5 separate regions of the Homo sapiens genome follow, and all the other regions are linked to region 1. Evidence: promoter capture Hi-C in 16 types of primary human blood cells and fetal thymus (Javierre and others, 2016). All regions are on one chromosome and are shown on one strand. Each heading gives the region's core, a stretch centred on a gene start or on the middle of the fragment in contact. The rest is flanking DNA. Distances are from core to core; before and after follow the strand shown.

What was found. The method cuts DNA at HindIII sites, captures the fragments that hold promoters and counts their contacts. A CHiCAGO score of 5 or more calls a contact.
Region 2: the fragment with the promoter of HABP4 here is called in contact with the fragment with the promoter of AOPEP in region 1 in 1 of 17 cell types (naive CD4 T cells); the score reaches 7.1 in naive CD4 T cells.
Region 3: a contact is called between the fragment with the promoter of ZNF367 here and the fragment with the promoter of AOPEP in region 1, in 2 of 17 cell types (monocytes and activated CD4 T cells). The highest score is 6.5, in monocytes.
Region 4: a contact is called between a fragment that was not itself captured here and the fragment with the promoter of AOPEP in region 1, in 4 of 17 cell types (naive CD4 T cells, naive CD8 T cells, fetal thymus and 1 more). The highest score is 7.9, in naive CD4 T cells.
Region 5: a fragment that was not itself captured here is called in contact with the fragment with the promoter of AOPEP in region 1 in 2 of 17 cell types (total B cells and naive B cells); the score reaches 5.4 in total B cells.

The regions. Positions count from the first base shown.
Region 1 is chr9:94,723,738-94,729,383 of GRCh38, forward strand. AOPEP (aminopeptidase O (putative)) reads left to right here and starts at 2,962. Exons shown (of 17, transcript NM_001193329.3): 1 at 2,962-3,014. RefSeq lists enhancers at 2,574-2,743, 2,689-3,231, 2,754-3,233. The HindIII fragment of the contact is 1,744 bases long and covers 2,724-4,467 here.
Region 2 is chr9:96,447,378-96,453,023 of GRCh38, forward strand. HABP4 (hyaluronan binding protein 4) reads left to right here and starts at 2,792. Exons shown (of 8, transcript NM_014282.4): 1 at 2,792-3,251. The coding sequence starts at 2,903. RefSeq lists an enhancer at 2,210-2,289 and silencers at 2,570-3,109, 3,120-3,179, 3,260-3,309. The HindIII fragment of the contact is 2,057 bases long and covers 2,475-4,531 here.
Region 3 is chr9:96,415,094-96,420,739 of GRCh38, forward strand. It overlaps ZNF367 (zinc finger protein 367), which reads right to left and starts at 3,277. Exons shown (of 5, transcript NM_153695.4): 1 at 2,520-3,277. The coding sequence starts at 2,939. RefSeq lists enhancers at 1,844-2,083, 3,558-4,091, 4,092-4,625, 5,142-5,646 and silencers at 2,444-2,683, 2,984-3,123, 3,234-3,893, 4,154-4,423. The HindIII fragment of the contact is 11,520 bases long and covers 1-5,646 here.
Region 4 is chr9:96,216,000-96,221,645 of GRCh38, forward strand. No RefSeq gene overlaps it. Among named protein-coding and RNA genes, the nearest start is that of HSD17B3-AS1, 28 kb to the right of the region's middle. RefSeq lists an enhancer at 2,010-2,229 and a silencer at 2,240-2,449. The HindIII fragment of the contact is 2,439 bases long and covers 1,217-3,655 here.
Region 5 is chr9:95,869,185-95,874,830 of GRCh38, forward strand. The region is part of intron 1 of ERCC6L2-AS1 (ERCC6L2 antisense RNA 1); the gene reads right to left. Among named protein-coding and RNA genes, the nearest start is that of ERCC6L2, 3.7 kb to the right of the region's middle. The HindIII fragment of the contact is 2,592 bases long and covers 1,801-4,392 here.

The DNA.
Region 1 (5,646 bases), core at 1,712-4,211:
TGCTATTAACTCAGACAAAAATACATGAGTAGGTCAGGTTTGGAGGTGGGGACAGAGGACGAGTTCAGGTTTTTAAATGCTAGCCCGATGTTTAAGTGGAATCTGGATATTTGAATAAGTTTTTTTTTTTTTTTTTTTTTTTTTTTTGAGACAGAGTCTCGCCCTGTAGCCCAGGCTGGAATGCAATGGCATGATCTCAGCTTACTGCAACCTCCGTCTCCCAGGTTCAAACCATTCTCCTGCCTCAGCCTCCCAAGTAGCTGGGATTACAGGTGCATGCCACCACGCCCAGCTAATTTTTGTATTTTTAGTAGAGACGGGGTTTCACCATGTTGGCCAGGATGGTCTCGAACTCCTGACCTCAGGTGATCCTCCCGCCTTGGCCTCCCAAAGCATTGGGATTACAGGCATGAGCCACCGCACCCGGCCTGAATAAGAAATTTTTAAACAGGTCTGAATGGAAAGATAGACTTGGGAATTGTCAGCTTACAAACTTACAGGTGGTAGTCACCTGACAAGAGACAAAGTCACCACCCTGGGAAAATACACATCAAGGAGGCAAAGTTTGTGCAGGCCTGCAGGCCTCATATGGACAGCAGATGTGTTTTGTTTGGTCCAAAACAGAAGTTTAATAAAATGTGAATTAGTGAGCAATGTTTAAAATTTGTGAGATTTCATGTAAATATCTGTATATCGATTGGTGTTTTTTTTTCTTTTTCTTTTTTTTTTTTTGAGATGGAGTCTCACTTTGTCACCCAGGCTGGAGCACAGTGGCGTGATGTTGACTCACTGCAACCTCTGCCTCCTGGGTTCAAGCGATTCTCTTGCCTCAGCCTCCTGGGTAGCTGGGATTACAGGCACCCACCACCACGCCCGGCTAATTTTTGTATTTTTAGTAGAGACAGGGTTTCACCTTATTGGTCAGGCTGGTCTTGAACTCCTGACCTTGTGATCTGCCCGCCTCAGTCTCCCAAAGTTCTAGGATTACAGGCGTGAGTCACCATACCCGGCCCTCGATTATCTTTTAAGCAGGGGATCTGACATCACCGGGTCAGCATTCCTGGTTGGCAAAAATCAACAGAGCTGTGGTAGGGACCACGAGCTCCAGATCACCACAGTCTCTATCCCTGGGCTTCACTCCTTTGTGTTAACTGCCCGGCTGCTGTAGGCTTTGGGGTTTGCAGCCTCTGATGGAGCCTAAGAAAGCCAAGGGAAAAAAGAGCTCAGGAAAAGGGAAAGTGGAAGCCAGTGATAGAAACTGAGGAAAGATAGGTGACAGGAGAACCTAGAGGACTGACTTGGAAACAAGCAAAGAAATCAAGTTTGAAAGGAGGTGAAACAAACCTTGTTTTAGCTATATGATCCAGCTATTTGCTTAGGCCCCAAATTTAAGAATTATTTTTGACACTTTTCTTTTCCTTATCTCCCTTATCTAAACTCATCTCCAAGTCTGTCACATCTACCTCAGAATTATTCCTGAAATTTGTCCATTTCTATCATTTCTTACCTGCTCATTGCAAAAGCAACTCTTCTCTTTGCATCCTTTTAAATTGTTTCTCAAAAGTTTCATGTATACACAGCAGCTAGCAGGGTGATGTTATAAAACTAGATCCTGTCACTTACGTGTTGATAACTCTTCACTAGTTTCCCCTTACACTTCGAATAAACTCGTATTCCTCACAGGAACCCAGAGAGTCTGTGCATGATGGGGACTCTCCTTGCCTTCTTGATCTCATCCTCTGTTCTTCCCATGACCTACTTTCTCACTTTCTCCAAGGCACCACATTCTGCCCCTTCCCTATTGCTTGCTCACATGTAGATTCTTCTCTTGGCTGTTCTTTCCTTAGCTCTCCACAGAGTTGGCTGCTTCTCAGTTTACTGAACCTCTTCAGAGGGCACTTTCTTGACATCTCAAATCAAAAGGTCACCTGTCTTCCTTTAATTTCTCAGCAACTTATTTTCCTTCTACTTTTTTTTTTTTTTTTGAGATGGAGTCTCGCTGTCGCCCAGGTTGGAGTGCAGTGGCGCGATCTCGGCTCACTGCAGGCTCCGCCCCCCGGGGTTCCCGCCATTCTCCTGCCTCAGCCTCCCGAGTAGCTGGGACTACAGGCGCCCACCACCTCGCCCGGCTAATTTTTTGTATTTTTAGTAGAGACGGGGTTTCACCGTGTTAGCCAGGATGGTCTCGATCTCCTGACTTTGTGATCCGCCTGCCTCGGCCTCCCAAAGTGCTGGGATTACAAGCGTGAGCCACCGCGCCCGGCCTTTCCTTCTACATTTAATGTTTGCTTTCTCAACTAGAAAGTAATCCCCATGAGGGAAGGCACAGCGTCTGTCTTGTTCCTGGTTGTTTCCCCAGCTTTTGTTAAGGGTGCTTGCCTGGCACACAGGAGGACCTTAAATTGTGGTGGAATTAATATGTGAACAATAGTCACATGCAGCAGAGGTGAGACTAGGCTAAGGAATAAAATTGCACATCTGTATTTCAGTAACTTTTTTTAAATTTTATTTGAAACAGGGTCTTGCTCTGTGGCTCAGGGTGGAGTGTAGTGGCACGTTCATAGCTCATTGCAGCCTCGAACTCCTGGACCTAAGCAATCCTCCTGCCTCAGCCTCCATAGTAGCTGGACCACAGGTGCACGCCACCACACTCGGCTAATTTTTTAATTTTTTTGTAGAGACGGGGCCTCCCCAGGTTGCCCAGGCTGGTGATTTTTTTCTTAAGCTTCATAAAGATTTTGCAATTAGGAATACTAGGGTACCAGGGCAACTCTACAAGCCCTAGCCAGCCAAGCTGCTCGCGCCCTCCTATGACCGCGGCAGCTCCGCGCCTGCGCAGATCTCCCCCGGGCGGTCTCGCCCTCTCATCCTAAGGGGGCGGGCCTAGCGGAAGGCGGGTCAGGCAGAATGCGGCCCCGGGCGCGTGTGGATGACGTCACCCGGCGCGTGCCGGGGTAGCCCGTAGTAACCCCGAGTCTGCGGAAGTGGTGACCCGTGGGACGCGGCTGAGACAGGTAACCTGTTCGCTCCCTGTTGGGTCCCTGCCTTCCTCTCCTCCGGCGTCGGGATGGCGGCGGGGACAGCATCATTCCGTTCTGAAGGCGACGGGGAACCCTCCCTTACCCTCACTTTTGCTCGACCAGCGAGGACCCGCATCCCCTCCTCAGTTCTCCCAGACTCCTGGGGCTGAAACCCATCCTGGGGACTGGGCGGAGCGGTCACATCTTACCACCTCAGCTGTAGAGGTGGCCACGGGCTCTGGCTGTCTTCTCCCCGGCGGCACAGACCTTTCTCAGCCTCTGGGTGCCTCCTCCTTCGTCTCTTGCCTCCAGGCCCTCGGTCACCTGCCGGTCTCGGCTTCTAGCCCCACAGGGCTCATCTCCAGTCTTAAGTAGGCAGAACAGTTTCGATTCGATTCATTTCCACTTGCAGTGAAACCCATCCGCCTCTTCTTCCCCCGGAGGATCTTTACTGAGAGCACCACATTTTGAGTTTTGGGGTCCCTATAGAACATTCATACTGTTAGTCTGGAGTTTTGTTCATGAACGCATGCATGGGCGGGGAGGGGGTGGCACAGTAATGTGATTATGATTATCTATTGTGATAATAAAATATCCACTTAGGATCCAATCCACTGTTGAGATGCATGGAACAGTTAATAGCATTGCATAAAATGCCCCTTGTACCTGATTTCTTTTTGGTTTTCGTGCAATGATGACAATTACCCTTGCAAAGGTAGCCCTCAAAATAAGTAACATAACCCGCTAGGGATGTTTAGATCGCAAAAAAACAACAATAAGGTTCATATGGTTGATAAAGAAATAATATGGGTTATTACAAAACCAGACAGAATAGATGCTGAGTATATGGGACGAGAAGCAGAATTCTGAAATCCTTGATCTCATTGATTGTTTGGTTTTGTATTTTTAAAATACTTTTAGTCTGTTCCATTTTTGAATAGTGTATATTGTGCTTCGTATAAGTCTGGGAAGCCTTCCAATGACTTGCTAATTGGGAAGATTAGATTCTTCCAATATTTGGGGGACAAAGTAGAATAAGGTTAGGGTATAATAATAGTTGCTTACTGTTGGCCCATCTGCTTTATCCCAGGTACTGTGTTCAACACTTTGCATATGTTTTCTCCTTACTTCATACAACCACCTCGTGAGTTAGGAATTATTACCCCCAATTTATAGAGAAGGAAATTGAGTTTCGGTTATATGAAATTGACTTGCTAAAAATTCACAGTTAACTAAATGGCAAAATCAAGATTTAAATTCAGGTCTGAATATAACTTCAAAGCCTGCACTTTTCTTAAAGGACTCTACTAATGCTCAAATTTTAGGCTTTTTACAATAGTTGCACACAATTTTATGAGTTTGTTCACCTACACAAATGATTTAACACTTTTTAATATCTTTAATACTGTGTTAAGTTCCCATATTCCTGGAGTTAAAACACCTGGAAAGCTTAATTTGTGATCCTTCCTGCGTGCGCGCATGCACACACACACACACACACACACACACACACACCATCCTTATTTTTAAGAATGAGATAAATGGCAAACAAGATTGTGCAGTAAAACCCTGCTGTTTGGAGTCCTCAGGGAATGGGTAATTTTACAGTTGAGAGCTTAATACTTCTTTAGAAATGAAAATTTTATTGACTCTTTGAGATGGAAATTTTAAAAATGTACTACACAATTTCTTGCCTTCTTAAACACTCAGGATGCCGAGTAGATTTTTGACCTCACTGTGCCCGGTCGAGGACAGTTCTTCTAAGGAATTTGGCTGTGAGGAGATAAAGAAGAGTTAGAGGGAGATGTGGACTTAAGGGAGGGTTTTGTTCATTTGTGGGTTTTTCCTGTAAGAAGAGACTGGAACATTCACATTTGTGAGGTGGAAAGGGCTTGGAAACAGGAAGATGCTGAGGTCAAGGATTTAGAGGGCTGGATGATTGATGAAGCAAGGTCCCAGAGGCCACCAAAAGACGATCTCCAGAGCAGAGGCCACCTTCAGGCTATGCGGGGCACGAGGGACACTTCTTCCACTCTCCTGGGAGGGATGGGGAGAAGGGTGGGCACAGACGTGAGTGAGTGTGTGGGATGAGGAAGAAATGTGTGGAAGTTCTTGTGTGATGGAGCAAAAGTTCTTAAGTGCAGCAGGTGAATTTGCTGACATTGCGTTGATTTGTTGGGATAGGGATTGAGGAAAGTTGGTAGAAGTTTAGAATAATCACTGAGGGAAAAGGACAGGGTTTGATGGGGAGACTAGAGAGAAACATGAAGGGTTGCCTGTCCAGGAAAGTTGGTGTCCCACCAAAGTTGGAGTCTATGAATATCTAGAGTCAGATATTCTTGTGATCGTGATATTTATTCAGCTTTTGTTGAGCTTAGTAGTTTAGAAGTACAGAAGGTGGATGATTCCATTGCTTAAAGGTTTGGTTTTATAAAAGTTCTGTCAGAAGGATGAAAGAGCAAGAGACTTGAGGTTAAAATGTTCCAAGAGTGTTTGAAGAAATGAACTATGTTATTCTAAAGATGTCCATAGAGGCTGGGGGCACTGTGGCTCACTCATCCCAGCACCTTGGGAGCCCAAGGCAGGAGGATCCCTTGAGCCCAGGAGTTCAAGACCAGCCTGGGCA
Region 2 (5,646 bases), core at 1,542-4,041, 1.7 Mb after region 1:
TACTCATCTCTATTTCAGTTCTAAAGATGTTCTGAATCCTGAAGCAACGAGAGTTGGTTCTCTTACAACCATTTGGGGCATTTGTGACTTGGAAATGAGGCGGCAGTGCTCACAGGGCATGCTTTAAGAACTTACAGTGGCTGGTTATGCTGTAAGGAAGATAAGAAGAAAACAGGGGAGCAGGCTAACTCCAGATGCCCAGTGGGAAGACGACAGGCCCTTCTCTCACATGATCATGATTCCTTGGTGTTGTGGTTTGGTGATGAGCAGTTTAAAGATACCAAAGATAACTTTAGCTTGAAGCAGTGCTTCTCAAAGTGTGGTCTCTGTTGCATGTAGTGATTCTGGTTCATTGAGATAAATTTACTATTTTTACTCTGGTTCATTAAGATAAATTTACTATTTTTACAAAAAATTTACTATTTTTACTAAATTTTACACAAAATTTACTATTTTTACAATTTTAAAGTGTACAACTCAGTGACATTTACTAAATTTACAATTTTGTGCAACCATCTCCACTATCTCGTTCCAGAACATTTCATCACCCCACAGGAAACTCCCATGCCCATTAAGCAGTTACTTTCCAACACTCCCAACCCCCACACCTGGTGACCACCAATCTGCTTTCTGTCTCTATAGATTCTGGACATTTCATATAAATGGAATCATACAACGTGTGGCCCTTTTTGTCCGTCTTTCACTTAGCACAATGTTTTCAAGTTTCATCCCTGTTGTAACAAGTATCAATACTTCCTTTTTGACCAAATAATATTTTTTGTACCACATTTTATTTATCCATTCATCGGGTGACATGTATATTATTTGTTTCTGTCTTTTGGCTATTGTGAATAGTGCTGCTATGAATACTCATGTACAAGTTTTGGTTTGAACACTTGCTTTTAATTCTTTTGGGTAGAAAGCGTAGGCATTAATCTTTGCTCACTCAAAAGGAGATGACCAAATATCTTAAATTCTTCAATCATTCAACAAATATTTACTGAAAACCTACTCTATAGCTGCTTAGAACGCCAAGCACTGGGAATACATACTGCAGTGAATAAGACAGGCATCATCCCTGTCCTCCTTGGGAATAACACAAAATTCAATAAGTGAGTAACACACAGACTTTACAGCATTTAGGATTAGGAATTCCTTTGCTATTAAGGAAAGTAAAAGCTGGTCACAGAGCACCTGGCAAGATGCTCTAACTGGATGCTTTCGGATGAAACAAGCAAACACAACTAAGCGCAATCACATCTGTCACCTTACATCATAAGCCTCAAGTAGGGAGGTTCCCAAGTGGGTCCAGTCGGCAGCTCAACCTCATCAAGGATCTAGCCTTTCTCTATCCTGCTCTGCCATCCTCATGGCCACGCTAAGGAACAGCCACCCGAGGCATCATGTCTTCTCATGGAACAAAGACCAGGGAACAGAAGGGGGGGAGATCCCTTCTCAATCCCTTGTTAGGTGCAAGAAAAACTTTCCCAGAATACTTCTCAGATCTGTTCTGCCCGATTTGCCCCACAGCCTATTCCTAAGCCAATTACTGGCAAGGAATTGGAATCAGGTGCAATGAATAATGTATGATTAATCAAGTTTGAGGCTGGAAGGGGCCCTCTTCCCCTGGGGAATATGATGCCTGAACAAAATACAGGCTCTGGAAAAATGTAAGAGGGAAAGAACGGCTGTAGGATAGGCAGCCAAGCGTGTCTCCACCGCTGCCTATGCAAAGATTTCCTGGAGGAAGTCCAGTCCGGCGTTCTCTAAGCTCCAGGCCTCAACTGAATATCTCAAAAGAAAACAAATATCCAAACCTCAACGTGTCCCAGACTGAATTAATGATTCCCGTTAAAGTAGTGTCTTCCAGTGGTAACTAATACTATCATTCAGATGCTGGAGCCAGGAAAATAAGAGTCACCGTATCTTCTTCTCCCTCATCACCACCTCTAGCGCATCACCAAGTCTTTGAATCCATCTACTCTCTTCGCCTCCACCGCCACCATCCTAATCCCAGTCACTATCAACTCTTCCCTGGAGCTTTGCAACAATCATGTTTGGCTTCCCAGCATCCATTTGTATTTCCCTCCAAACTATTAGTTCACAGTGCAGGTAGGGTGGCCTTTTCAAACCCAAATCTGCTCATGCTCAAAACTTGCTTCCCACTGCTCTTAGAATAGAGACCACTTTGAGCTTGAATAGGCTGTGCACATCCCACCTCAAGACTGCTGCACTTGCTGTTCCTCCTCCAACCCCTTGTCACCCCTCTCCCTCGGCTTAACTGTCATTTCCCAATTAGGTCAGATCCCTTTGCTGCAGCCCGTAGAGAGCTCTGCGCCTGTCCTTCAGGGCACTTTTTCTCCATCTACAGACTCAGATCTGTGACAACACGGAGCTAGTATTTCCTACAACATAATGCCTGGCACACGGTAAGTGCGCAATATGTAGCTGTTGCACGGCTAAATGTATACATAAGCTTCAAAGCAGAGTGGCCCATAGCAAATACGGTCGCAGTCCCGGGAGAAAGCACACACAGCCGAGACCCCACCGCTTCGTCGGCGCCGCCTGGACCAGCCAGTAGCTCCGCCCCTGGGCCCCGCCCCTCCCTGCTGAGCGAACGGGGCGGGGCCCAGAGGTCGCGTGACGTGACAGCAGCCGGTCGGTGATTGGGTCTCCAGGCGCGCCGTGTCGGAAAGGGGGCGCACCCGCGCGCGCTGACTGGCTGTCTGGCGCAGCGGGGCGGACGGCGGCGGCGCCGCGGGGGCGGGCGCCGGTAGGGGCCGGACAGGGTAGGGCCCGGAGGGCGGTGGCGGCGGAGCGGGCGGCATGGGTCCTGGCCGCCGGCTTCGCTGAGACGCGCTCGCGTGGGCTGCCCTCCCGGGCCCGCAGTGGTCGCGGCGGCATGAAGGGCGCTCTGGGGAGTCCCGTGGCTGCCGCTGGCGCCGCGATGCAGGAGAGTTTCGGCTGCGTGGTGGCCAACCGCTTCCATCAGCTGCTGGACGACGAGTCGGACCCGTTCGACATCCTGCGCGAGGCCGAGCGCCGGCGCCAGCAGCAGCTGCAGCGCAAGAGGCGCGACGAGGCGGCGGCGGCGGCCGGGGCCGGTCCCCGCGGCGGCAGGAGCCCAGCCGGGGCCTCGGGCCACAGAGCCGGCGCGGGCGGCCGGAGGGAGTCGCAGAAGGAGCGCAAGAGCCTCCCGGCGCCCGTCGCTCAGCGGCCCGATAGCCCCGGGGGCGGCCTGCAGGCGCCGGGTACGCGGGGACAGCGGGGTTAGCGGACCACGGCTCGGCCCGCTGTGAGACTGGGGTCCCGGGGGCCGGTTTCAGGAGGAGGGGCCCGGGAACAGTAGGGAGAGTTGAGGGTCCTGGTGGCCGCCGAAGGTAGGAGGAGAGGGGCAGGGGTCACACCCCTTCCAGCTCTCGCCAGCCTCGTGCGGGGCTCCGGGGGAAACGCTGGCTTGGGGTGGGATAGGGCCCTCGAACCCTGGCACTGAGGCTCTACGGCAAGTTGGACGAAGTTGAGGGAGGTTGTCTGGGTGGCGTGTGGGGGCGAACGGCTGAGGTCGCTACCCCGGGGCTCCCACATCCAGACCTGGCGGGGACCTTCATCTTCCAGCCCAGCCTCTGCAAGATTGAGGTCGGAGCCACCCGAGAGCGCGGTGGGGAGGAGGAGGGCGCCTGGTCCCGGGGCTGGGGGCCTCTGTGATGCCGGAGGCCTGGGCGACCGCGGGGCGGCCTGTGACGTCGGGGCCCGGGCGGGGGTCCCCGGCGCGGTCCGGCCTGGCGCCTTCGCCCCTTCTCCGTCCGGTAGCTTCCAGGAGGCAGCCGGCATCGTATTTCAGTACTTCGTGTGGTGTTGATGGGATGTGCAACTTATAAATAGCTCAAGGCTGCTTTAAGAAAAGCGTTTTTAACCTTTCCAGCAAGAATATTCGGAGTTCCCCACTCCCTATTTAGCAAGAAAAACCGGTGCGCAGCGTGGTGTCCTGCTGCCTGTGGACGGGGAGGGTGCTTCAGAGTTCATTCTCTCACCGAACTGCGTCAGTGGCAGAGCCAGCAACACTCCACCTGTGTTTCCTGTTTTCTTGAAATGAGGCAGCGGTCCCAAGGTTTGCAGAGTGTTAGGATTAAGATGTGTAGGTTGACCATTCCTGCCGACGTTTGCCAGTGTGTTCAACTTGGCTTTATTGGTTTGTTCCTTGCTTGATAAAAATTGTGCATCGCAGCCCTGAGGAAACGTCTCAGGTTTAAGTATTAGGGCTTTGATGTGCAGCTGGGTAATGTTTACCTTTATTTGTGAAAAGCTAAATCCAGAGTCATCACTTGAGAATCAAGTCACTACAATAAAGATGTTGAAAATGATTTTTAAAAAAATGTTATTTACTATCTCACGACACTTTGGTAGGCCAGTAAATTTCTGAGCCTATCTAAACAGTGAGACTGGAGATACATTGTGCATTTTATATCCTGTTTTTTATCTTTTTCTCTTAAACTTATTTACATCAATATAATAAAGGAATTGAGGAAGGCTAAGCTTTTCTTCACCCTTTATTTTTTAACAAATGAAAATGCCGGGTGTGGTGGCTCACGCCTGTAATCCCAGCAGTTTGGGAGTCCGAGGCGGGCGGATCACGAGGTTAGGAGATCGAGACCATCCTGGCTAACACGGTGAAATCCCGTCTCTATTACAAATACAAAAAATTAGTCGGGCGTGGTGGCGGGCACCTGTAGGTCCAGCTACTCGGGAGGCTGAGGCAGGAGAATGGCGTGAACCCAGGAGGCGGAGCTTGCAGTGAGCCGAGATCGAGCCACTGTACTCCAGTCTGGGAGAAAGAGCGAGACTCCGTCACAAAAAAAAAAAAAAAAAAATTCTGTGCTTCAGAAAAACGTGAGACGAGTTAGTGCTGTTAATACATTGATTTTTAGCCTTTTTAAAATTGTCATGCATTTTTGTGTTAAGAATTTTAAGCAATTCCAAAATGTATGAGGTTAAGTGAAAATCCTCTTATTTTTCCTACTAACACTTTGCATTTATATACATAAATGCACAGAGCTATTTCTTTTCTTTCTAAACTTAAATGATATAAACTGGGTTGCAACCTGTTTCCTGCACTTGATGTTGTCATGTAGTACACTCGTAACTTTTTTTTTCTGTCAGTTGTTAGGTCTAAGTGATCTGGCTTTTGAAATCAACTAAAGGTATTTAGTTGATTTTGTAGTTAGAACGGAAATTTTATCATTCAAGTTCTTTTTCAAGTATGTGTTATTTCAGGAGCAAACAGCTCATTAATTTCCATTTATGTAGTTACTGTACTAAATTTATCTATAATGGGTGTCAAGGAGCTATTCTCTCAAGGTTTTGTAACCCTAGTTGATAAGAAGCACTGTACTTTTCTAACATTCAAAATTTTTTATCTAGTTAGAATGTTGTAAGTGAATGCTTAGTGTAGACAAAAATAAAACATGTTTGACATATCATAGAAATGTTAATCCTGAAAGAATGTGGAAGTCACAAGCTTTTCCTATGGAAAAGGGTTTTTTTTTTTTTTTTTTTTTTTTTTTGAGACAGAGTCTTTTTTTTTGAGACAGGCTGGAGTGCAGTGGCATGATCTCGGTTCACTGCAACCTCTACCTCCTGGGTTCAAGC
Region 3 (5,646 bases), core at 2,027-4,526, 1.7 Mb after region 1:
GCCCAGGCTGGAGTGCAGTGGCACGATCTCGGCTCACTGCAAGCTCCGCCTCCCGGGTTCACGCCATTCTCCTGCCTCAGCCTCCCGAGCAGGTGGGACTACAGGCGCCAGCCACCACCCCTGGCCAATTTTTTTTTTTTTTTTTTTGTATTTTTAGTAGAGACGGGGTTTCACCGTGTTAGCCAGGATGGTCTCTATCTCCTGACCTTGTGATCCGCCTGCCTCGGTGTCCCAAAGTGCTTGGATTACAGGCGTGAGCCACCCACCCGGTGGATACCGATCCATCTTACATCTCACTAGGGGATACCTAGAGGCAGCCCAACAGCAACTGTAGCCTTTAGTAATACTCAGCAATACTATCAACGCTTCTATCGTTAGTTTCTTCATTTTTTTTTTTTTTTTTTTTTTTTTTTTTTTTTTTTGAGACGGAGTCTCACTCTGTCCCCCAGGCTGGAGTGCAATGGCGCAATCTCGGCTCACTGCAACCGCCGCCTCCCGAGTTCTACCAATTCTCCTGCCTTAGCCTCCCAAGTAGCTGGGATTACGGGCGCCCGCCACCACGTCCGGCGAATTTTTATATTTTTAGTAGAGACAGGGTTTCACCATGTTGGTCAGGCTGGTCTCGAACTCCTGGACCTCAGGTGATCCACCCGCCTCAGCCTCCCAAAGTGCTGGGATTACAGGCGTGAGCCACCGCACCTGGCAAGTTTCTTCAATTTTTGTTAAAGAGTTGAGGTCTTGCTTTGTCACCCAGACTGAAGTGCAGTGGTGCTATCATGTCTCACTGTAGCCTCAAACTCCTGGTCTCAAGTGATCCTCCTGCCTCAGCCTCCCATGTAGCTACGTATATAGGTGCAGGCCGCCAGATGCGGTCTATGTTGCCCAGGCTGGTCTTGAACTCCTGGTCTCAAGTGATTCCCCAGCCTCAGCCTCCTGAAGGGATCACAGGCATGAGCCACCTCACCAGGCTCTGTTATGGTTTTTTTTTTTGTTGTTTTTTTTTTTTTTTTTTGAGACGGATTCTCGCTCTTTTGCACAGGCTGGAGCGCAGTGGCCTGATTTCAGTTCCCTGCAAGCTCCGCCTCCCGCTTCACGCCATTCTCCTACCTCAGCCTCCCGAGTAGCTGGGACTACAGGCGCCCACCACCAAGCCCGGCTAATTTTTTGTATTTTGAGTAAAGACGGGGTTTCACCGTGTTAGCCAGGATGGTCTTGATCTCCTGACCTCGTGATCCGCCCGCCTCTGCCTCGCAAAGTTCTGGGATTACAGGCGTGAGCCACCGCACCCGGCCCAGGTTCTGTTCTTTCAAATGTTTACTGAGGTGCAGTTTCAAGAGCTGAAGTGTATAAAAACCTATAGTTTTATAACCTTATAATTATTTAATAATAATGCCACATAAAATATATCAATTTCCTCAAAACCCAAACAATGTAGTTTCAACATCCTTGTGACTGCATGTAAAATGATCAAACTCGTTTCAACTTATACATTATGTGCTGATACAGATGCAGTTATCCACTATGTGATTTACTTGTTATCTCTTGCAAATTGCTTATCTTATACAGCCACTTAACAAATGGAACCTGGATATTACCCTTCTGTTAGCACCATTCATTCATTACACAAATATTTTTTGAGCACCTTTATTGAGCATTTACAGAATGTAAGGTAGTAAAGTCATATAGTCTTCTAGATAGAAATACTCCTGGCTCACCTGGAGCTTACAGTCTACAGAGTTCAGTATAAGTCAGCAGAAAGTCACCCCAAACACATGCAGGACTAAAAGCCACAAAACCTCGACCTAGTCCCCGCTCTTCCACTACTGAGCTGTGCCATCGTGGGAAGGTCGCCTCACTAATCACTGTAAGCCCCAGCTGCCTGATCTGTAAAATAGGTTTGAACCAGTGGTAACGACCTTCCCAGCTTTAAGCAGTCGGAGACTGCAAGCAATTTTAGCGTCCCATTCCACTATGTGCTCTCAACACCTAGCAAGTAGTATGCTGGATAAATGAAAGGCAGCGAAGGCACAACTTCAGCCGCAGAACAGGCCCAGAAGTCCTTTCTTGCTCTTCGGCTGTCTCTGCAGGGCATCTTTTAACAGGGCGAGGGCGATCTGCAGTAATGGAGCAAACACTGTGCGCTCCCTGCCCTCTCGCAGTCGGTGGAACAACTCAAGGCCCTCATCCCTCTCGTTTCCTCTCGGAACTGAGGACTCGGCAGCCCGCCGGGAGGATGTCAGTGGCCGTTGACCCGGCCTCCCCAGCGACCCCGGGCCGCGCTCCCGCCCACTGCACCTGCCGCAAGGACGGTCTCCCGCGCCGCTCCCGCCTGTCACGTGACAGGCCCCCCCCGACTGGGGCCGGTTTTTGGCGCGCGGCAGTGACGTCAGCATCCTGTCAGCCGCAGCCCCCGCCGTAGCCGGATCGACCTCGCGTTTTCAACTCCGCCCCGCCCGCCGCACCGTTAACGGGCCCCGGCTGCCCCACGTCCCGCCCGCCCGCCCGCCCGCGCCGCTCACCTTGAGGTGGCCGCTGTCTGGGCTGCTCGCTTCCTCCTCGTCCTCACCTCCCGAGGCGGCGGCGGAGGCCGAGGCGGCGGGCGGGGGCGCGCCCCGGCCACGAAGCCCCGAGTGCTCGGCGGCTGCGGCTGCAGGCAGGGCGGCCGAGGCGGCGGCCCCCGCGGCCCCAGGGCTGAGCGTCACGTTGTGTGCGTTCTCGCCCCAGCGCCACGGGTACACCATGAAGTCGCTGAAGCCGGGGCTGGTGGGGATGAGCGGCGGCGGCGGCTCCGGCTCCCCTCCACCGCCGCACGTTGGCTTGATCGGGGTCGTCCTGATGACCGACACCAGCACCCGCTTCGGGGAGTCGTGGCAGAAGATGACGGGCGGCGGCGGCGGCGGCGGGTTCTCCGCCATGGGCGCCTCGAAGCCCCGGATCATCGCCCGGCCCGACCCCCAGCTCCGGCGGCCCCGGGCCGCACTCCTGAGCACCGCTCTGCCCCTCACTCGCTCTGCTCCGAGTCGCAGGCTCAGTCCTGCCGGCTCATGGCAGACTGACGTTTCCCGGAATCCTGCGCAGCAGCCACCTAACTAGTTGAGCAGACGGCACCGGCGGGCAGGGCTGGACCCCAGCCCCAGGTCAAGCGCGCCCTCCGCTCTTTGTACTCCGCAGCGCAGGCTGCAGGGGTGGGAAGCAGCGGGCGGCCCGGCCCTTGCGGTGACAGGAAAGCAGGACGCGCGGCGCTGAGCCCCCAAAAATAACAACCTGCCGCCGCGGTGCCTGCCCCGGCTTTTCCCGCGTTACATTTCGCGCCTGGGCGGAACCAGTCACCGCGAGGCCGCTGCCCGCTGGCCGCACCGGCGAGTGACAGGCGGCGCGAGCCAATGGCCAGGCCTGGCCTTCTTTCCAGCCGGCCGGGGCGGGGCCGGGTCTGCGCGCGGGTCCTTCCCACCTCGCCATTGGCCGCCGCTCTTATATTTTTTTCTGTCTGGAGGGCCAACAGCGTTCGAAACTCCAGTGGAGCGCGCGGCGTCTCCACTCGCCCGGACACACCCGCCTGCCGCCCCGCCCCGCCGTCCCTCCGCGTGGTTAGTCCGGGCCAGGGAGACAAGGGCGGCGGGGAGGGCGGCAAGAGGGCGGCTGATTGGACAGCGGCGGGGCGGGGTCGGGGGGGGTGGTGATCGTTGGGCGGTGGAGGCGCGCGCCCCGCTCGGCCCCGCCCGCCGTTGGTTGTTGGGCCGCGGTTCCCGCGCGCAGGGAGTTTAAAGGGCTGGGGCCCCGCCGCCCGCCCCGCCCTCGGTCCCACCACCCGCCCGGCGGCTGGAGTCTCTGCTGCCCGAGGTCCTGATGGGCACCCGGCGTGCCTGGTTTCTTAATCGAGTTCCGTCTGCTCAGCTGTTGCACGCTCTGTGAACCAGCCCTGTCAGCACCGCCCTGACTCCTCCGGGCCGATTGTGGGCCTCCGGTTCCCCATCTGTGGAAAGGGGAGAGTCCAGGAAGTGGCCTCCGAAGTCCCTGCGGGCCGCTCGCGGCGCGGAGGCCACAAGAGCCGGGCGAGAGTAGACACTCTCACCCTGGACTGATGCCCCGAAGTTGCCTCGGGGATCTCCCCACCCCGGCGACCCCGCTCTACCGAGCGGCTGCTCCGGGAGTCGGGGCAGCGCCCTACTTTGCTCGGCCCCCACCTGCCCCGGCCGCGTCCTAGTACTCGCGCCGGGACGCGCGGAGCCCCAACGTCCTCTGCCCGCCCCGCCCCAGCCCCGCCTGGCTGGCGCCGACCGCGGCCCGGGTGGGGCTCGCAGGCTGCAGAGGAAGGACCGGGCGGAGGGGTTGCCCGGCTTCCTACCCGCTAGATGTGGCCTGGGGAGCTGCGTTTTGTTCTTGGGAATACAGATTCCCAGGCACCGCCTGATTCGCGGTAGGGGCTCAATAAATATTTGCTGAATGGATGAATGAATATCCATTGGTTAAGGGTTAGGATTGGTAATTAAGTTAGAACACGACTGTATAATAACAGATAACTAAGCTGAATAGCTTTTCTCTCTGTGAAAGACACACAAATGCACAGCTATGACTAAATTAAGCCACAATTGTTTAAAAACAAATAAAGGAAACTGTACTGATATGAACAATTTCAAAAATGTATTTTTATTTTAAAAGGCAAAACAAGCAATAGTGTGATTTTATGTAAAATTGTTAAAGTGGGGAAAATACGTTTTTACTTTTAGACGTACATAAAATATCTGGCAAGATGCAAAAGAAACATGGATCATGGAGGGAAATTGTGTGGCTGGGAACAGAAGTGAAAAGATTTCAAGAAATACAATATATAACTATCTTTTGAACTTTGAACCAAGTGAAAGTATCCTTTTAAGAAATGAAACAGTATATAGCCTCCATTTTCTGGAGGCCTACTACAAAAATAGCATATATGTACTGATACACAATAATACATATGGATGTTTCACAGTTCACTCAACAATTGGGTAAGGAAGATATTTTTCCCATTTTATAAATGAGAAAAGTTGAGGCTTGTACAAGATTACATAATAAATCCTTTGGAAGAATAAGTCTGTACTGCCTGTGGATTATATTCAGTGTCTGCTGAGCAAAAGGAGGAAAAGGCTGAAAAATGGGACTCACACATTTCTCGGTCCCGTTTCTCATATTCCAAAACTTTCAGGGTTTAGGGGCAAATTTCATATTGTAATGGTTGATCTAGAAAGTTGAAAGTTCAGCCCTACTTTCACCTAATTTAGTAAACATACATTTTGTTTTTACAGTTTAATACCAAAAAACATATTTTTCTGAATCAGTTGGAAGGGAAATGTTATCCATCTGTTTTATACTTGACAAGTAGTGTAAAGAAAAAAGTGATCTATCCATCATGGACACTCGAATTAGGGGTTGAGCAAAATCCAACAGATTAATCACCAACAAATAGTTACTGTTTAACATTCAGAGCATGCCCCAGAGGGCAAGATGAATCATCCAGCACAGGATGCTGACTTTCTGCTTCTAAAAATTGCCCTTCATCAACAGTAACCTGGCAACTCCACTTGCTCTCTTCCCCAAGAGAATGAAAGACATGCCAGGAATGTGTGAACTGGGCAGAAGGTGATTCCAGGAGCAAAGCTGAGGTCATAC
Region 4 (5,646 bases), core at 1,186-3,685, 1.5 Mb after region 1:
ACTAGCAGCCCTGAATCAACTACTCTTAAGACTTGGTGTATACATACCCCAGCTCCCTTGCCTCTTGGGTTAGATAATTCTGAGAGGCGAGTTTCCCTGAGTTCCCATGGGATGGGGCTCCTTAGCACTTACCTTCCCTCCTTCCTCTCAGGCTTGTCCAGGAGGATGGGCAGGAGGCACTGAGCTCCCTGGTGGCCTTTGTGAGCACAAGGTCAACCCCAGACCCTTCCTTAGTTCCCAAGTGACTAGAGCCCGGACCTTCTGGGTGGCTGCCTTAATTTTCCCCTTGTCCTCCTGGAAGGAGGCCCCAGGATGTTGAATTCTGGAGGAGCTAAAAGGCTCCACTTAAAACTTCTCCCTCCTCCCTGGGCTAGACCTAAAAATTCTATTAGAATCACACCTCTGTTTCAGACAGAATCTCCACAGCACCCCCAGAGGAATGGGACAGGGGATGGGAGAGGTCGCGTGAGGCTTATCAGCCACAGGAACACGTCCTTCCAGCAGGGTTAGAGGATCCCAAAGAGAGCAGAGACTCCAGGGAAAAGAAGAAGAGCACGGAGTCAGCATGGAGACAGTGCTTATCTGCAGGCGGGGAGCCAGGAGGGATTCTTTGCCCTTCTTGACTATACTTTTCAAATTCTCTAAAATGTTTCAGAAATAAGATAATCACAAAGTCTGCAAGTATCCCCCCACAAGGTATAATCACTTTACAGTGGAGAACACAGCAGACATCACCTAACCAAGTGATAAAGGTGACATCTCCAGGAACGGCTGCTCCCTGGCAGAGGCAGGGGTGGGGGGTGCACCAGGAAGAACCCAGCACCGCCCCTGGGATTCCGAACAGTCTGATCCTGAGGGAACGTCAGACAAGCCCAAGTTCAGGGACTTCCTACAAGATAACTGGTCCATATGCTCAAAAATTGTCCAAGTCATGAAAAAATGAAGAAAATCTGAGAAAGTGTTCCAGATTAGAGGAGACTAAAGAGACGCAATAACTAACCCAAGGTGTGATTCAGCAAAGGCCCATTCATGGGCCTCGGGGAAATATGATGAGGGTCTGTGGAGGATAACACAACTATATCAATGTTAATTTCCTGATTCAGTCACAAGCCTGTGGTTATTTTGAGGGGAAATATAAACCAAGGCATTTATAGGGCATCAATGTGGGTGAAGGGTGCATGTGAACTCTTTGCATAATTTTTAAACTGCTTTTAGAAGCTTCAAATTATTTCAAAATAAAAAGTTAGAAAAGAAAAATGGCCATTAACTTTATAATCAGAAAAAAAAATGTTTTAGGACAAAAATATGTCTCTGGTCATAGCCTGTGCTGTGAATCCATGGAGTAGATTCTTGCTGTCAGCAAAGTTCCCAACAGCTGGAGAAGAACAAGGAACAAAAGCCGAGCTGCCCTCCTGAGCTCCCAGGGTCCCAGACACAAAGCTGGCCTCTCAGGCTTTACTGAAAGATAAGTGCTGATAAGGCCTGCGGGTCATCTTCGTCTACGCGGGCCCCCCAGCTCGCTGAGAGGGGCCCGCCCTTCCAGAGCTCAGCCAGACATAAGCCAGAGCAGAGCGTGTTTCTTTTCAGCTGAAAGCTGCAGCTGGTGCATCCACCCTGGGTATGAGCAGACTCGCAGCAGGGTGCCCACCAGAGTGGGGACCTGCAGATGCCCCTGCCCAGAGACGCCGGGAGGCCACAGCCCAGGTCTTCCGGATGGAGACAGAACTTCAGCATTCCGTTTGGATCAGTCCAGAAGAAAAAAAAAAAAAAAAAAAAAAAACAAGCAAAATCTCACTATCACTGCTACTAAAACAAGATAAGCTACAAAAACAACTAATGCAACTACTGGCTTACACCCAAGTCTCACCAAGTTCCCCATAATAACCAAATTCCCCGTAAGAACGGCCACAAGGGTGACCACACTGACTAGTTGTCCTAGCCTGGTTGACCACACTGACTAGTTGTCCCAGCGAAGTGTTGCTGGAAACATTGTCAAGGTAAGGTTTGTGCCTGGTCCCTCTTGAGGCCAGGGCTGGAGGTGGGCCCCTCCGTGCGAGCTGGCCGACTGGCAGACCTGGTTGCATCTGGGCAAAAAAAGGCCATCATCGCCATAGATGCTGGAAGCTGCTCTCTCGCCCACTTTAACTGTGGGGGCCTCGGCCCCCCGTTTTTTAACTACTGGAAGACGTAGCCCTGAGTCCAACCTCTTCCACGCCTGGCGACGCTGCTAAGAACGCGGAGCAGGGCTGGAGGGCTCAGCGCCGGCGGGCTCAGCGCCGGTGGGGGCAGGGCGCGGGTCCGGGAGCGGGCGCGGAGGCACGGAGCCACACTGCCCCCTGGCGGCCATCCCCTGCCCCGCCGGCACCGCCTCCGTGAGGCGGAAGGTTGAATGTCACCACTGCGTTGCTGAATTCCGGCTCAAGATTATTAGTGCGGGGGCATCGGGTCCATCCAGGGGAGGAGAACGTTCCTAATGCGGAGTCACAAGCCCTACCTTTAAGGTCTGGCTCTGGAACTCTGGGCAAGTTGCTTAAATTCTCTGTTCTCAGCTGCGAAAGGAGGAAAATAATTAAAGCCTGTGTTGTAAAGACCTCACTAGGCAATGTGTGCTCTACAGGCTTTCCCTGCCCCTGACGCAAAGACACACGCACAGAAAGCAAGATCATGAGGGATAGATTTTTTTTTTTTTTTTTGACAGAGTCTCGCTCTGTCGCCAGGCTGGAGTGCAGTGGCTCGATCTTGGCTCACTGCAACCTCCACCTCCTGGGTTCAAGCGGGTCTCCTGCCTCAGCCTCCCGAGTAGCTGGGACTACAGGCGCTCACCACCACGCCTGGCTAATTTTTGTATTTTTAATAGAGATGAGGTTTCACCATGTTGGCCGGGCTGGTCTCGATTTCTTGACCTCGTGATCCTCCCGCTTCGGCCTCCCAAAGTGGTTGGATAGGCTTCAGCCACCACGCCCGACCGAGGGTTAGATTTTAACCCAAACACTGTCCCTTCTAATGTTCTCCGCTGCCGCCCAGTGCAGCTCCCAACGCTGACCCGGGTTTCTGGGGTGGAAGCAGCAGAGGCGCCCCCACCCCCACTCCCGCGCTCCACCGAGCCGGAGGGCAGCCCAGGGGCAGCAGCCCCACAGTGGGGCCTGAACAGCGTCCGCGGACCCGACCCGCGCTGCGGCCGCGCTGCCCCGCTCCTCTGGGCGCCTCCCCGAGGGCCTCGCTCGTCTGACCCGCAGTACTCTCCGCCCTGCTCCTCGTGCCTTTGGTGGGCGCGTGGCTTCCGGCCTGCGGAGGCTGTGCCTCCTCGCCAAGGAGCCGTTCACAGCCGCGCGTTCGAAAACCCAGCCGCCGGCCGCGCGTCCTGGAGAAGGGGCACGGTCAACTCGCACGCCCTAAGGGCCGGGCCACCGGGGTCACTGCCCGGCCTGCGGGGGCCGTGCCTGGGGCGTAGGAGCAGCGCTCCTCCGCAGGCGCTATGCATGCCTGCGCCCTCCTGCAGGATGGGCCACGAGCCCAACTGCCAGGCGATCGGCCGAGACCCAGAAGGGTGAGAGGGGGAAGCCGCACCCTCTTCGTGGGTGCGATGCTGTGAACGTCTTCCTTCAAGGAAAGAGCTGCTTCTGGATTTTCCTTGAACTCCAGGAGGTGCTAAGAAAGCTTCGTGACTGTGGCAGATGCGGCTCAGCGGCCCCTCCCAACCCGCCCGCGCCAGTTGGGAAAGTGACTCCCCCGCTCCCCGCCAGTTGGGAAAGTGACTCCTTCCTGTGGGCAGAAGGCAGCGGACCTGGAGGGAGCCCTCGGGCTCTGAGAGTCACGCGGGGGGCGGCCTGCTCTCCCGCGCCCCCTAGCGGAGCATCGGCTCACACGCACCTGAGAGGTCGGAAGAGGCGGGCGCTTCTCTGCCTCCCCCACCCAGGCCCCTTGCAGTTTGTATGCCCTCACCCTGGATAAAAGATTTTGGTTCAACTAGAACTATCTTTTCTAGATCTCATTCCTTTATAACTTTTTTGCTCACAGGAAAAAAACAGGATTATAAAGCCTCTGGAATACGGTCACAGTCGCCAGACTGGGCCCTAGGAGGGCTGAGTTCCTCATTCATTGTTGGTAGAAATATAAAATGGTATGACCCCCTTCCTTTGGAAAATAGTTTGGAGTTTCATAAAATTTTAAACATACACCTGTCATCTGACCCAGCCATTCTACTCCTAGGTATTTACTCAAGAAAAACAAAAACATCTGTCTATACAAAGATTTGAACCTGACTGCTCATAATTGCTTTGTTTGTAATAGCACCCGAGTGGAAGCGACCCAAATGTCCACCAACAGCTGAATGAATAAATAATTTGTAGTACAGACACTCCAAGAAATATTACTCAGGAGTAAAAAGGAATGCACTGGCCGGGCATGATGAGATTACACGCCTGTAATTTCAGCACTTTGGGAGGCCGAGGTGGGCAGATCATCTGAGCCCAGGAGCTGGAGACCAGCCTGAGCAGCATGAAGAAATCCCATCTCTACAAAAAAAAAAAAAAGAAAAGCCAGGTGTGGTGACGCAGGCCTGTAATCCCAGCTACTCGGGAGGCTGAGGCAGGAGGATCACTTGAGCCCAGGAGGTCGAGGCTGGAGTGATGCAATCTCAGCTCACCCAGCCTGGGCAACAAGAGTGAGACCCTGTCTCAGGAGAAAAAAAAAAAGGGCTGGGCGCAGTGGCTCACGCCTGTAATCCCAGCACTTTGAGAGGCTGAGGCAGGCGGATCACCTGAGGCCAGGAGTTTGAGACCAGCCTGGCCAACATGGTGAAACCCCGTCTCTACTAAAAATACAAAAATACAAAAATCAGCTGGGTGTGGTAGCCCATGCCTGTAATCCCAGCTTCTAGGAGGGGCTGAGGCAGGAGAATTGCTGGAACCTGGGAGGCAGAGGTTGCAGTTAGCTGAGACTGCGCCACTGCACTCCAGGCTGGGCCACAGAGCAAGACTCCAAACCGCCCCCCTAACACACACACACACACACACACACACACACACACACACACAAAGAAAAAGAAAAAGAAAGGAATGTTGTGCACACAACAACATGGGTGACTCTTTTTTTTTTCTTTTTTTTTTGAGACGAAGTCTCGCTCTTGTCCCCCAGGCTGGAGTGCAATGGAGCGATCTCGGCTCACTGCAAACTCCGCCTCCCAGATTCAAGCGATTCTCCTGCCTTGGTCACCCCGAGTACCTGGGATTACAGGTGCCCGCCACCATGCCCGGCTAATTTTTGTATTTTTAGTAGAGACAGGGTTTCACCATGTTGGCCAGGCTGGTCTAGAACTCCTGACCTCAGGTGATCCACCCGCCTCAGCCTCCCAAAGTGCTGGGATTACAGGCGTGAATCACCGTGCCCGGCCAACAACATGGGTGATTCTCAAAACAATTACGTTCAGTGCAAGAAGCCAGACTAAGAAGAATGCCTACTGTGTGATTCCATCCTATAAGCTTCTAGGAAATGCAAATGAATCTATAGTGTCAGAGCAAATCAGTCATCACCAGAGTTTGGGATGGGGCAGGAAGGACATATTTCGAAAGGCACAAGGATGTTGGGGAGGGTGAGGGGTGATCAATATTGTAGTCATTGTGATTGATTGTGATAGTTTCAAAACAT
Region 5 (5,646 bases), core at 1,847-4,346, 1.1 Mb after region 1:
GCTAGTATTATTCAAAATTAGATTCAGTTGTCCAGTATTTTGTTTAGAACTTTTGCATATAACTGTAAGTAAAATTTGCTTATAATTTCACTTGTCATGGTGTCCTTATTAAATTTTGCTATCAAGATTTAACCAAGTTTATAAAATAAGTTGGGGAGTGTTCCTTTTCTTGTATTCTCTGGAAGAGTTTATGTGATATTTATCTATTCCCTTTGACATTTGGCAGAACTTTCCTGTACAGTCACTTACATCTGGTCTTTTCTTGGAGGGACATTATCAACTACTGATTCAAGCTTCTCCAACGGTTATGGATTTCTTCAGTGCTTCTTTTCCTTTTTGATTTTTTTTTTTTTTTTTGAGATGGAGTCTCTCTCTGTCGCCAAGGCTGGAGTCCAGTGGGGCCATCTCTGCTCGCTGCAACCTCTGCCTCATGGGTTCAAGCAATTCTCCTGCCTCAGCCTCCTGAGCAGCTGGGACTATAAGCGTGTGCCACCACGCCCAGCTAATTTTTTGTATTTTTAGTAGAGACGGGTTTTCCCTGTGTTAGCCAGGATGGTCTTGATCTCTTGACCTTGTGATTCACCCACCTCAGCCTTCCAAAGTGCTGGGATTATAGGCATGAGCCAGTGTCCGGCTCCTTTTTTATATATTTTTAAAGGCAATATAGATTTGAACACTTGGGCATGAAATCGTTTTTAGTATACTCCCATATTTTTCTGATCTTTGAATTCTCTTTAGCATTGCCCTATTTTCCATTCCTAATGTTTATTTGAGTCTTTTCTCTATTTTTCTTGATTCATCTCACCAGTGGTTTGCCTACTTCATTAATCTTTTCAAAGAATCAACTTTTGGCTTCGTTGATAATTTCTATTGTATTTTTTAAAATTACTCTTTAACTTCTGTTTATTTTTTCCTTTTATTCTAGTTTCTTTAGGATTAGCTTGTTGTCCTTTTTTAAAGTTGGAAGCACAATTAATTTTCAGCTTTTCTTCTTTTTCAATATGAGCATTTTTTACACTTTAGCAATTTCCCACAAACTTTGATATGCAGTATGATTATTCAGTTCTAATGGATGTTGAAACACCAGGACTCAGGGGATGAAATATGAATATAAGTTCATTTATTGGAACAATACTCATTCAAACCCACTTTGAGAACCATTTTTTTCTTCATATTCTTGAAAGGCAACTAGGAAAAGTCTCATGATTCTTCTAGTCTCTCTTGATAATAAAAAAATCCTGGGGTCACTTCTAGCCACTAAAAAGAGACAAACAAAAAGTCAGTTTGGTAAAGTCCATGTAATAAAAAAAATTAAGACTTCAACACTTGTTTAACCTTAAAGACTTCCCCTTTCAGAGCTCACACTTGGTACAGGCAAGTGGTTGGCAGGGGAAAATGTGGGGGTGATTGCTTCTTTTATATGATTTATGCCTCACCTTCCTCTCCTACTTTCTAAGCTGCTTCCAACTTCTTTAGGGATGATTCGGAAAAAGAGACAAAAACAAGGAACAAGGGCCAGGCCAGGATGTGCATGCTTCTTTCTAGCAACCTAGATACAGTTAACCAGGCACTACATTATGCTATTATCTTGGCTTGGAGTTTCTTAGGTAACGCAGATTGTATACATTCAAATCCTAAATTTGAGGGCATAGCTGTGGTTTCAAAATTTCAGAGGGAATTAAGAATACCCCTTCAAAAATCCCATGCCAAGGCAGACAAATCCCTCTTCATCCTCCTTCTTTTCTGCTATCCAGACTTTTTTCTTCTAGCTCACCATTTCACTAAGGATGTTACCTTTCAAGCTTTCTGATTTCAAATGGGAGGCTCAGTTTCAATGTGGGAACTTGTGGGAGCTTAAGACCATGTCTTCTGCTCCCACAAGCCTGTGAAAATTCAGACCTTTTTGTAACTGAGCCAGACAAATGTGTCCAGGAAAGGAGTGGTATAAGTGCCATCTTAATAACTAGTTTTCAGTTCCTTCCTTATTTTTGATCTATGAGTATTTCACGTACTTCTTGAAAGCTCAGCTATGCATTGAGATTTTTTTATTTTTAAAATTTTATAGATTCAGAGGGTACAGTACAGGTTTGTTACATGGGTATATTGCATAATGGTGAGGTTTGCACTTCTAGTGTACCTGTCACTCAGAGTGAAAGTTGTTCCCAACAGATAATTTTTCAACCCTCACCTCTCTCCCATCCTACCCACTTTTGGAGTCCTCTGTGTCTATTATTTCCTTCTGCATGTCCATATGTATCTATTAGTTAGCGCCCACTTTTAAGTGAAAACACGTGGTATTTGATTTTCTGTTTCTGAGTCATTTCACTTAGGATAATGGCCTCCAGCTCCATCCATGTTGCTGCAAAAGACCTGATTTTATTCTTTTTTTTTTTATGGCTGCAATATATTCCATGGTGTTTATATACCACATTTTCTTTATCCAGTCATCTCTTGATAGACACTTAGATCGATTCCATGACGTTGTTATTGTGAACTTTACTGTGGTAACATACAAGTGTGGGTGTCTTTTCAATATAATGATTTATTTTCCTTTGGGTACTCAGTAGTGGGATTCGTGCATCAAATGGTAATTCTACTTTTAGTTCTTTGAGAAATCTCCATACTGTTTTCCATAGAGGTTGTACTAATTTACATTCCCATCAACAGTGTATAAGCATTCGCTTTTATATTTTGAGAGTTTTTATAAACATGTTTCAACCAGTATTTCTTGGTGTTTTGTTGCAGGATTTTTATACTTATCTGACATGAGGTATTAAATGTTCTATTATTTGAGTCTATTTATTGAGTCTATGAAGTAAAAATGGTGTTGGTGAATATTCAAGGTGTAATGATATTCATTATATGGGACCATGATATACTTCTAACACTGACTCTATATATCTTTCACTATACCTCATTCAAGCCTCAAATTTTCCTTTCTTTGGCCGGAGCTTTTTTGTTGTGTTTTGCTTTTTAAACTGTGATAAGAAAGAACATATTATATAAAATGTACCTTCTTAACCATTTTTAAGTGTACGGTTTAATAGTGTTAAGTATGTTCACACTGTTGTGCAACGTTGAGTTTTAAACTTTAAGATTTAGGTTATTTGTGGCAAGGAAGGACAGGTCTATTTTATCTTCTTTCTCTTGCCTTCACTCATCTTTGCTTCCTTATTGGCTGGAACGACGTATGAAGGGAGAAATGCTGCAACCTAAAATCATCTAACTAAAACTCAAAAGACTTAATTTCTTGTGTTGTCTTAGAGTTTCATATCTATTTTTTTCTGGAGCCTTTTTGCTAGATTAACTCACAATTCTGGAGATCTGTCAACCACATACAGATATATATTTGACTTTTGCAGTGTGAAGATAAAGAGAGACTATTTTTTGGCAAATTATTGGTGGGTTTAATCATCCTTCCATGAGCCTGTTTTGAAATGCCTGTGTTATCACCATCTGTGTTATTTTTTTCTCTTTTGTAGTTTTAATTGGCTTAATTTTTGCTAGATCCTCCTTTGCCAAAAGTTTTGTATGTGATTCAGTTCATTCATGTGATTTATCCAACATCACACATATTAACTACAGGAATTCCTTAATATTTTACAAGATATTCAGTTTAACTTTGAAGTGACTGGTCTGACAGCGTTAGATGTTCACAATATCAGCACCTAGACAAGGATGTCAATGCAAAGACAAAAGCTACTGGGGGAAGGAATATTTGAGAATGTCTAACTTTATGAGGCAACTAGTTCACTAGGACATATTTTCATGTCATGATTATTTCTGCTTCAGTATACACTGTAAGTACAGCAGTGAGGTTAAATAATAAACACTCAGAAAATGAGGGCCGGGCGCGGTGGCTCACGCCTGTAATCCCAGCACTTTGGGAGGCCGAGGCGGGCGGATCACGAGGTCAGGAGATCGAGACCATCCCGGCTAAAACGGTGAAACCCCGTCTCTACTAAAAATACAAAAAATTAGCCGGGCGTAGTGGCGGGCGCCTGTAGTCCCAGCTACTTGGGAGGCTGAGGCAGGAGAATGGCGTGAACCCGGGAGGCGGAGCTTGCAGTGAGCCGAGATCCCGCCACTGCACTCCAGCCTGGGCGACAGAGCGAGACTCCGTCTCAAAAAAAAAAAAAAAAAAAAGAAAATGAGGTATCCTCCTCTTTTGTTAGTCACAAGGGTATTCCTTCAACCAGATGATACCTCCCATTTAAATCAAAATTTATTTCTGAATTTGCTTATCACTTCTATTAAGAGGTCTGCTCTGTCAAGAGCTACATCTTAACTCAATGGACCTCTGGAAAAATAAGACAAAATTACACAACTAGTCATTTCAGAGAGGGGAAAAAAATCAAACTTCTTCCCTGGTAGTTGTAGGGGAAAAAAAGAAGCTTGATTAAAATTTCAATTTGCCATTTTGATTTTAGAGACAATGTGAAAAGAGATATAATCCATCAATAACAAGCAGCAGATTTTTCTAGATTTTAAGATTTCCAATATCAGGGTGCATGTCAGAATCAAGAATTACAATTATAATTAGTAGTGTTTTTCGCTGTGTCGCCAGATTAGAGTGCGGTGGCGCAAACTCGGCTCACTGCAACCTCTATAGACCTCCCGGGTTCAAGCGATTCTCCTGCCTCAGCCTCCTGAGTAGCTGGGACTACAGGCATGTGCCACTACGCCCAGCTAATTTTTGTATTTTTATTAGAGACGGGGTTTCACCATATTGGCCAGGATGGTCTTGATCTCTTGACCTCATGATCCGCTCACCTTGGCCTCCCAGAGTGCTGGGATTACAGGCATGAGCCAACCGCGCCCGGCCTATTAGCCAAAATATTAAACTGACATAATGGCTATGTAGAATGCAACTTTCAAGTGGATGCATTCCATTGATAATAATAGTAATAACAACACATATATTCCTTACTATGACCAGCTACTGTTTTAGGAGTTTTACTTAATTATCTAATTTTTTACAATTACCATTTTTAGGTAGTTTACTATTATTAGCTTCACTGTAATGGTGATAGGTGAGTACAATAAAACACGGAGAAGTGATCTGGCCAACAACTCACACATAGATGGCTGAGTTAGATGTTTCACTTAGGCTTAAAGTTATTGCCTGCTGGTAAGCAAACAAGTCATATTTTAAATGAAGCATTTTATGAACACATACTACTAGTTTTTAGTATCTGCCATAGAATTGAGATCTATTTGCAAACAGCCATATTGTTTTCTTAAGACACTACTGTAGGCAGAATAATGATCCCCCAAAGATGTTTATCTCCTAATTTCCGGAATTCGTGAATATATTAGCTTACATGGCAAAAGGATTCTGCTGATGTGATCAAGGGCAGAGACCTGGAAATGGGAAGATGATCCTGGATTACTCAGGTGAGCCCTCAGAATCTTTTCCAGCTGCAATCAGCGGTAGACTTGAGGATGGAAGGTTCAGAGAGATGGCATATCACTGGCTTTGAAGATGGAGGAAGGGACCAAAGCCAAGGAATGTGGACAGAAGCTGGCAAAGGCAAGCTAAGGATTGTCCTGTGGAGTCACCAGAAAGGAGTGCAGCCCGGGTGACACCCAGGTAGCACTTCTGATCTACAGAACCGTGAGATAATAAATGCATTGTCTGTCAGA